Linked DNA regions of Homo sapiens: region 2 is linked to region 1. Evidence: promoter capture Hi-C in 16 types of primary human blood cells and fetal thymus (Javierre and others, 2016). All regions are on one chromosome and are shown on one strand. Each heading gives the region's core, a stretch centred on a gene start or on the middle of the fragment in contact. The rest is flanking DNA. Distances are from core to core; before and after follow the strand shown.

Evidence for each region. The method cuts DNA at HindIII sites, captures the fragments that hold promoters and counts their contacts. A CHiCAGO score of 5 or more calls a contact.
Region 2: the fragment with the promoter of SPNS2 here is called in contact with the fragment with the promoter of SLC52A1 in region 1 in 2 of 17 cell types (neutrophils and erythroblasts); the score reaches 9.6 in neutrophils.

Annotation. Positions count from the first base shown.
Region 1 is chr17:5,033,790-5,036,803 of GRCh38, reverse strand. SLC52A1 (solute carrier family 52 member 1) reads left to right here and starts at 1,378. Exons shown (of 5, transcript NM_017986.4): 1 at 1,378-1,943; 2 at 2,091-2,327; 3 at 2,446-3,014. The coding sequence starts at 2,198. All of the region lies in intron 3 of LOC105371501 (a long non-coding RNA gene), which reads right to left. The HindIII fragment of the contact is 18,376 bases long and covers 1-3,014 here.
Region 2 is chr17:4,497,631-4,500,644 of GRCh38, reverse strand. It overlaps SPNS2 (SPNS lysolipid transporter 2, sphingosine-1-phosphate), which reads right to left and starts at 1,764. Exons shown (of 13, transcript NM_001124758.3): 1 at 1,228-1,764. The coding sequence starts at 1,597. SPNS2-AS1 (SPNS2 antisense RNA 1) reads left to right here and starts at 1,910. Exons shown (of 3, transcript XR_001752763.2): 1 at 1,910-2,494; 2 at 2,930-3,014. RefSeq lists enhancers at 330-964, 965-1,600 and silencers at 1,642-1,691, 1,752-1,901, 1,912-1,971. The HindIII fragment of the contact is 9,610 bases long and covers 1-2,482 here.

The DNA.
Region 1 (3,014 bases), core at 129-2,628:
GTCTTAGCTAGCAGGCCATACAAAAATGGGTAGTAGGTCAGGGTAATCCCTGAGATGGTCAGTGAGTAAACAAGTACAAAATATCATTAAAGGGCCAGACATGGTGGCTCACGCCTGTAATCCCAGCACTTTGGGAGGCTGAGGCGGGCGGATCACCTGAGGTCAGGAGTTCGAGACGAGCCTGGCCAATATGGTGAAACCCCATCTCTACGAAAAATACAAAAATTATCCAGGCGTGGTGGCAGGCGTCTGTAATCCCAGCTACTCGGGAGTCTGAGGCAGGAGAATGGCGTGAACCTGGAAGGTGGAGCTTGCAGTGAGCCGAGATCGCGCCACTGCACTCCAGCCTGGGCGACAGAGCGAGACTCCGTCTCAAAAAAAAAAAAAAAAAAAAAAAAAAGCAAAAATTAGCCAGGTGTGCACACCACGTCCAGCTAATTTTTTTTCAACCATTTAAAAGTGTAAAAACAGCTGGCCAGGCACGGTGGCTCACGCCTGTAATCCCCAACACTTTGGGAGGCCGGGGCAGGTGGATCACCTGAGGTCAGGAGTTCAAGACCAGCCTAGCTAACATGGCGAGACCCTGTGCACTAAAAAGACAAAAATTAGCAGGGCATGGTGGTGGGCGCCTGTAATTCCAGCTACTCGGGAGGCTGAGGCAGGAGAATGGCTTGAACCCGGGAGGCAGAGGCTCGTGCCATTGCACTCCAGCCTGGGCAACAAGAGCAAAACTCCGTCTCAAAAAAAAAAAAAAAAAAAAAAAGTGTAAAAACAGCTGAGCGTGGCGGTAGCTAGGTGTGGTGCGTCTGTAGTCCCAGCTACTTGGGAGGCTGAGGTAGGAAGATTGCTTGAGCCCAGGAGTGCCAAGCCAGCCTGAGCAACATAGTGAGACCTTGTCTCTACCAAAAAAAAAAAAAAAAAAAAAAAAAATTAGCTGGACATGGTGATGCTCGCCTGTGGTCCCAGCTACTTGTGGGGGGGTGGGGAGAGGCTGAGTGGGAGGATCCCTTGAGCTTGGGAGGTTGAGGCTGTAGTGAGCCGCGATCGCGCACCGCTGCGCTCTAGCCTGGGTGACAGAGTGAGACCCCGTCTCAAAATTAATTAATTAATTAAAACAACAAACAACAAAACCCCAGCTGTGTGGGCTCTGGGCTGGGCCGCCTCCCCGGCGGAGGGGGCTCCCTCTCAGGCAGACCGCCAGCCGCTGGGTCCGGGGACTGCCGGATCCGGAGGTGCGGGGACCCCTGCGCACCTGGCGGCTCCCGGGATGCCCCCCTGAGGCAGGCGGGAGGGCAGCACGGAGACGCCCCTCCGGGCAGAGCCCGCCCCAGCCACTCCCCTCTCCAACTCGACCTGCCTCAGCAAGTCCTGAGTGTCGCAAAAGCGCTAGGGTTGCAAGTGGCACCAGAGACGTGCCCTTGTCCCGGGGTCCATTTGAGGGTGAGCGTGTTGGTGCCGAGCTGTTTTTTTGTTTTGTTTTGTTTTGTTTTGTTTTTGAGACCGAATCTCGTTCTGTCGCCCAGGCTGGAATGCAGTGGTGTGATCTTGGCTCACTGCAACCTCCACCTTCCGGGTTCAAGTGAATCTCCTGCCTCAGCCTCCTGAGTAGCTGGGATTACTGGCACCCACCACCACGACCAGCTAATTTTTGTATTTTTAGTAGAGACGGGTTTTCACCATGTTGGCCAGGATGGTCTCAATCTCCTGACCTCAGGCGATCTGCCTTCCTCAGCTTCCCAAAGTGCTGGGATTACAGGTGTGAGCCACCGCACCCGGCCAGTGCTGAGCTGTTTTGACAACTTGGACCCCGGGTCCTCTGTGGGTAGGAAAATCAGCTCCCTCTTTGCTCCTCTGGGGCAGCTGCACCTCGGGCCAGCTTTCTGCCTGTCTGCCTGCCGGCACTGCTGGGTCGCTGTACCCAAACGCACAGCCGGTGCCCCGTGGTAAGTCCTGGCTCCCCACCTTCCCCGCCCGCCCCCGGCCACCTCTCCCTCCAGTTGCCCTGGTCTTAGCAGTCTGACCGACTTGTCTTCTGACTCCGGTTCTGTCCCACCAGCCTATTACCTGCCAGCCTGTCTGTTTCCCTCCAGCTAGAAGGTCTTCAGTTTCCAGAAGAACCAAAGCATCTTTGGACCTACCTAGGGAAGGACCTGCCTGTGACCTTTGCCCTGTCCTGGAGGGTCCAGCTTTGGGCTGAATGGCAGCACCCACGCTGGGCCGTCTGGTGCTGACCCACCTGCTGGTGGCCCTTTTTGGCATGGGCTCCTGGGCTGCTGTGAACGGGATCTGGGTGGAGCTGCCTGTGGTGGTAAAAGACCTTCCAGAGGGTGAGTGGGAGGGAGGTACAGGGAAGCGTGGGGCAGGTATGCCCAGAAAGGTGGCCTGTGGCAGCTCTTTGTCCCTTAGCCACTGTGCTCCTGACATGGCATCATTCCTTCCCTGCAGGTTGGAGCCTCCCCTCATACCTCTCTGTGGTTGTGGCGCTGGGAAACCTGGGTCTGCTGGTGGTGACCCTGTGGAGGCAGCTGGCCCCGGGCAAGGGCGAGCAGGTCCCCATCCAGGTGGTACAGGTGCTGAGTGTAGTGGGCACAGCCCTGCTGGCCCCTCTGTGGCACCACGTGGCCCCAGTGGCAGGGCAGCTCCACTCTGTGGCCTTCCTAACTCTGGCCTTGGTGTTGGCAATGGCCTGTTGTACCTCTAATGTCACTTTCCTGCCCTTCCTGAGCCACCTGCCACCTCCTTTCTTACGGTCTTTCTTCCTGGGTCAGGGTCTCAGTGCCCTACTCCCCTGTGTGCTGGCCCTAGTGCAAGGTGTGGGCCGCCTCGAGTGCCCACCAGCGCCCACCAATGGCACCTCTGGGCCTCCCCTCGACTTCCCTGAGCGTTTTCCTGCCAGCACCTTCTTCTGGGCACTGACTGCCCTTCTGGTCACTTCAGCTGCCGCCTTCCGGGGTCTCCTGTTGCTGTTGCCATCACTACCCTCTGTAACCACAGGGGGCTCAGGGCCTGAACTT
Region 2 (3,014 bases), core at 515-3,014, 540 kb after region 1:
AGTCTGTCCAAAAATAAATCCTTCCCTCTCTCCTATCTCCTCTCTCTCTCTGTTGTGTGTGTGTTTGATAGCTCCAGATTTTACTAAGCTATAGTTACGCAGGTTCTGGGCCAGCATGCCAGGCACACAGTACTGCTCTCCTCCTGCAGGGAGCCCCTTCCTATGCCAGTCTGGCCAAAGTCCTTCCCTCTCAAAGCTCCACCATTCCCAACCAGTAGCAGCTCAGTCTAGGGCAAATTCTTACCCCTAGACCCACCCCTAATTGCTGGGGAAGGGAGCCAGCAGAAGGCAATTCCAGAACCACGTGCGTCCCCCAAAGGCCCAATGATCAATCAACTCACAAACGGGCAAACAGACCTAAACACACGCTGAGACTGGCCCAAGGTCACACACCAAGCACATTAGGAGCAAAGCTGGGGCTAGAACCCAGTTGTTCTATCGATCCCAATCCCGTCCCCAAGGCTGATTCCCAGAGATGCTCCCTGAGGATGAGGCTCCACGTCTCTAGCTCCAGAGGCCTGCGCCCTACCCTACACCCCAAGCACCATAGAGCAGGGGGAGGCGTCTCCAGGCCTCTGTACAGGGCCAGCTGCAAACCGCAGCCTGGGTCCCCAGGCGCCGCGGACCCGCCCCGCCCCTCCCTCCGCTCCCCGCAGCCCGGAGCCTTTGTCAGCCACGCGCTCACACACAACCGCGCCGCCACGCGCACACACACCCGGTCTCCCTAGCGCACACCCGCAAGGGGCGCGCGCACTCGCCGCACGCACGCAGGGGGGTGGAGGCGGCGGAGAAAGGAAGGAACTGACGGGCCATGGACGGACAGACGACCTGGGCTGGGGGAAGGGAAGGGAAGGAGGCCCGGGAACCGGCAGCTGGGGTCGGAGGGGGCGCAGAGACAAGGAGACAGAGAGACGCAGAGGAGACTCTTGGAGAGGAGGACAACGGATGGGCCGTCAAGGGCTGGAGAGGACGCGCGGGCTGCTCCAGGGGTGGGGACTCCTCTATCCCTTGGCCCCGGGTGTGTATGAGCGGGGAGCTGGATTGTACCCGTGGTGCACGGAGGCATCCCTTGCCCAGTTGTGCCTGAGCAGAGGGTCCGTAGGGACCTCACGTAGGGCCTGGAGATAGCAGGCCTGAGACCAAAAGCTCTCTGGGGTACCTCCCTCGAGGCGGGTGGTGGGATGGGGTGGGGTCTTGGTCCTCGGGCTGGGTGGGGCACTCGCTCACCTGCCACGGTGTACCTGTCCAGGTAGTTGAGCACGTTGCCCAAGCTGAGGATGGCGGCGGCTGCCCCCCGCCCGCGGCCCAAGCTGGCCGGTTTGGGCTGCTGAGCGCCGGGGCCCTTTGCAGTAGCTGCGCAGCCGGGGGTGCCGGGGGTGCCGGGGGGTCCGGTCGGGGCCCGCCTTACGCTGCCCGACAGCGTCTGCACCTCATCGCCCGCGGCCGAGACTCCAGCGCCGCCCGCGCCCCGCGCCCCGCAGCAACCGCTACCGCCAGCCCCTCGCTGCGCCCCCCGGCGCCGGCGCCGCCGCTCCGCGTCCGCCTCCTCCTCCTCCGCGCCGCCCGCCGCCGCCGAGGCGCATTCCAGGCACATCATGCCGGCCCGGATCGGGGCGGCGGGGGGCGCGGGGGGCGCGGGGCCCAGGCTGGGCCCGCTCAGCGCGTGCGTGCGCCGCGGAGCCGCCACTGCACCATCCTGGTCGGGCCCCGTCGGCTCCTGCGCTCCGGCCCCGGCTGCGGCGCTGCCACCGCTCAGCTCGCTGCGCCTCGTTCGCCGCCGCGGCTCTGACAGCTGCGGCCCGGCCCCGCCCACCAGGCCCGCGCCCAATCAGCTCCGGGCTCGGGCCACAGCCCCGCCCCGCACGTGCTGCCCTGGGGGTGGGGGGCCCGGGGACTGGGGGCCCGGGCGGCAGAGCCCCTCCTGCCAATGGGGGCGCAGTCACGCCGGGGCCGACCGGCCGCGAACGCCCGCGGGGAGCGGGAGAGGGTTTGCTCTGGCTACGGAGCTGGGAGCAGGGTGCTGGTGACGGGGCTCCCAGCACCTACTCAGTACCCTTCACCCAACCCCTGCCTCGGGCGTGGACTCCCGGCGGAGGCTCTGGGAGCCGGGCTGAGGGCTTGAGCCTAGCGTATCTGGGAGAACTGGAGAGAGGAGTCTCAGATGGCTAAAGTCAGGGGCGCCAGTTGGAGAGCCGGTGGCTCCTCCGATACTCACACGCCCGGATTTAACCAGTTCAGGGAGGGCCCAGAACCTAGACCTCCACCAGTCATGGTGGGCTGTGTCTCCCACCTCCCCAGGGCAACCCAGATCCAGCCCCCAACCTACCCCGGGCCCATTCCTGTGTGGGCACCCGGACCCTACCCTTGCCCCACAGAGTGGCCCGCAGCCCCTGGCGGGGAGAGCAAGGGCTGTGATTGGGGCCCAACAGAAACAGGATATTCAGAAGGGGCTTTCCCTCCTGAGGGACCACATCTCCAAGCTTCAGACTTCCAGGTATGTGCTAGAGAGGGTACAAAGCCCCCAGTGGCAGACAGGAGGCTGGGTCCTAGCTCAGCTCTGCCCTGGTGTGTGGCATGATCCTGAACATGACACCCACTCTCTGGGCCTCCATTTCTGTATCTGGGGGCAGATGGCAGGATGGGATTCAGTCTGGAAATCCACGGGTGGTCACCTCCCCTTGGTGGGACGGGGCGGGGGTCTGCCTCCTATGGAGAGTGGTTGGGGTGCTTCTGTGTTCCTGACATCCCATCACGGTTTCACCCCTCCTTAGAGGTGCTGTGGCTCTGTGACGATCTCCCCCTTCCCTCCCCCATTCACCTGTTTGGGGAATTAAAATCGAAATTAAAATCCTGTATAAAGTGCAGAGGACAGAATGTTAGAACTGGACAAACCCTCGGAAACCAGTTAATCATTCCCTGTGTTTCACAGACAAGTCCCAGGGCACGGACGTGACCCATTACGAACAGGCAGTGAAGCTGTGGCAGGGCTGGAGCTGCCCCAGGCTCTGGCATCA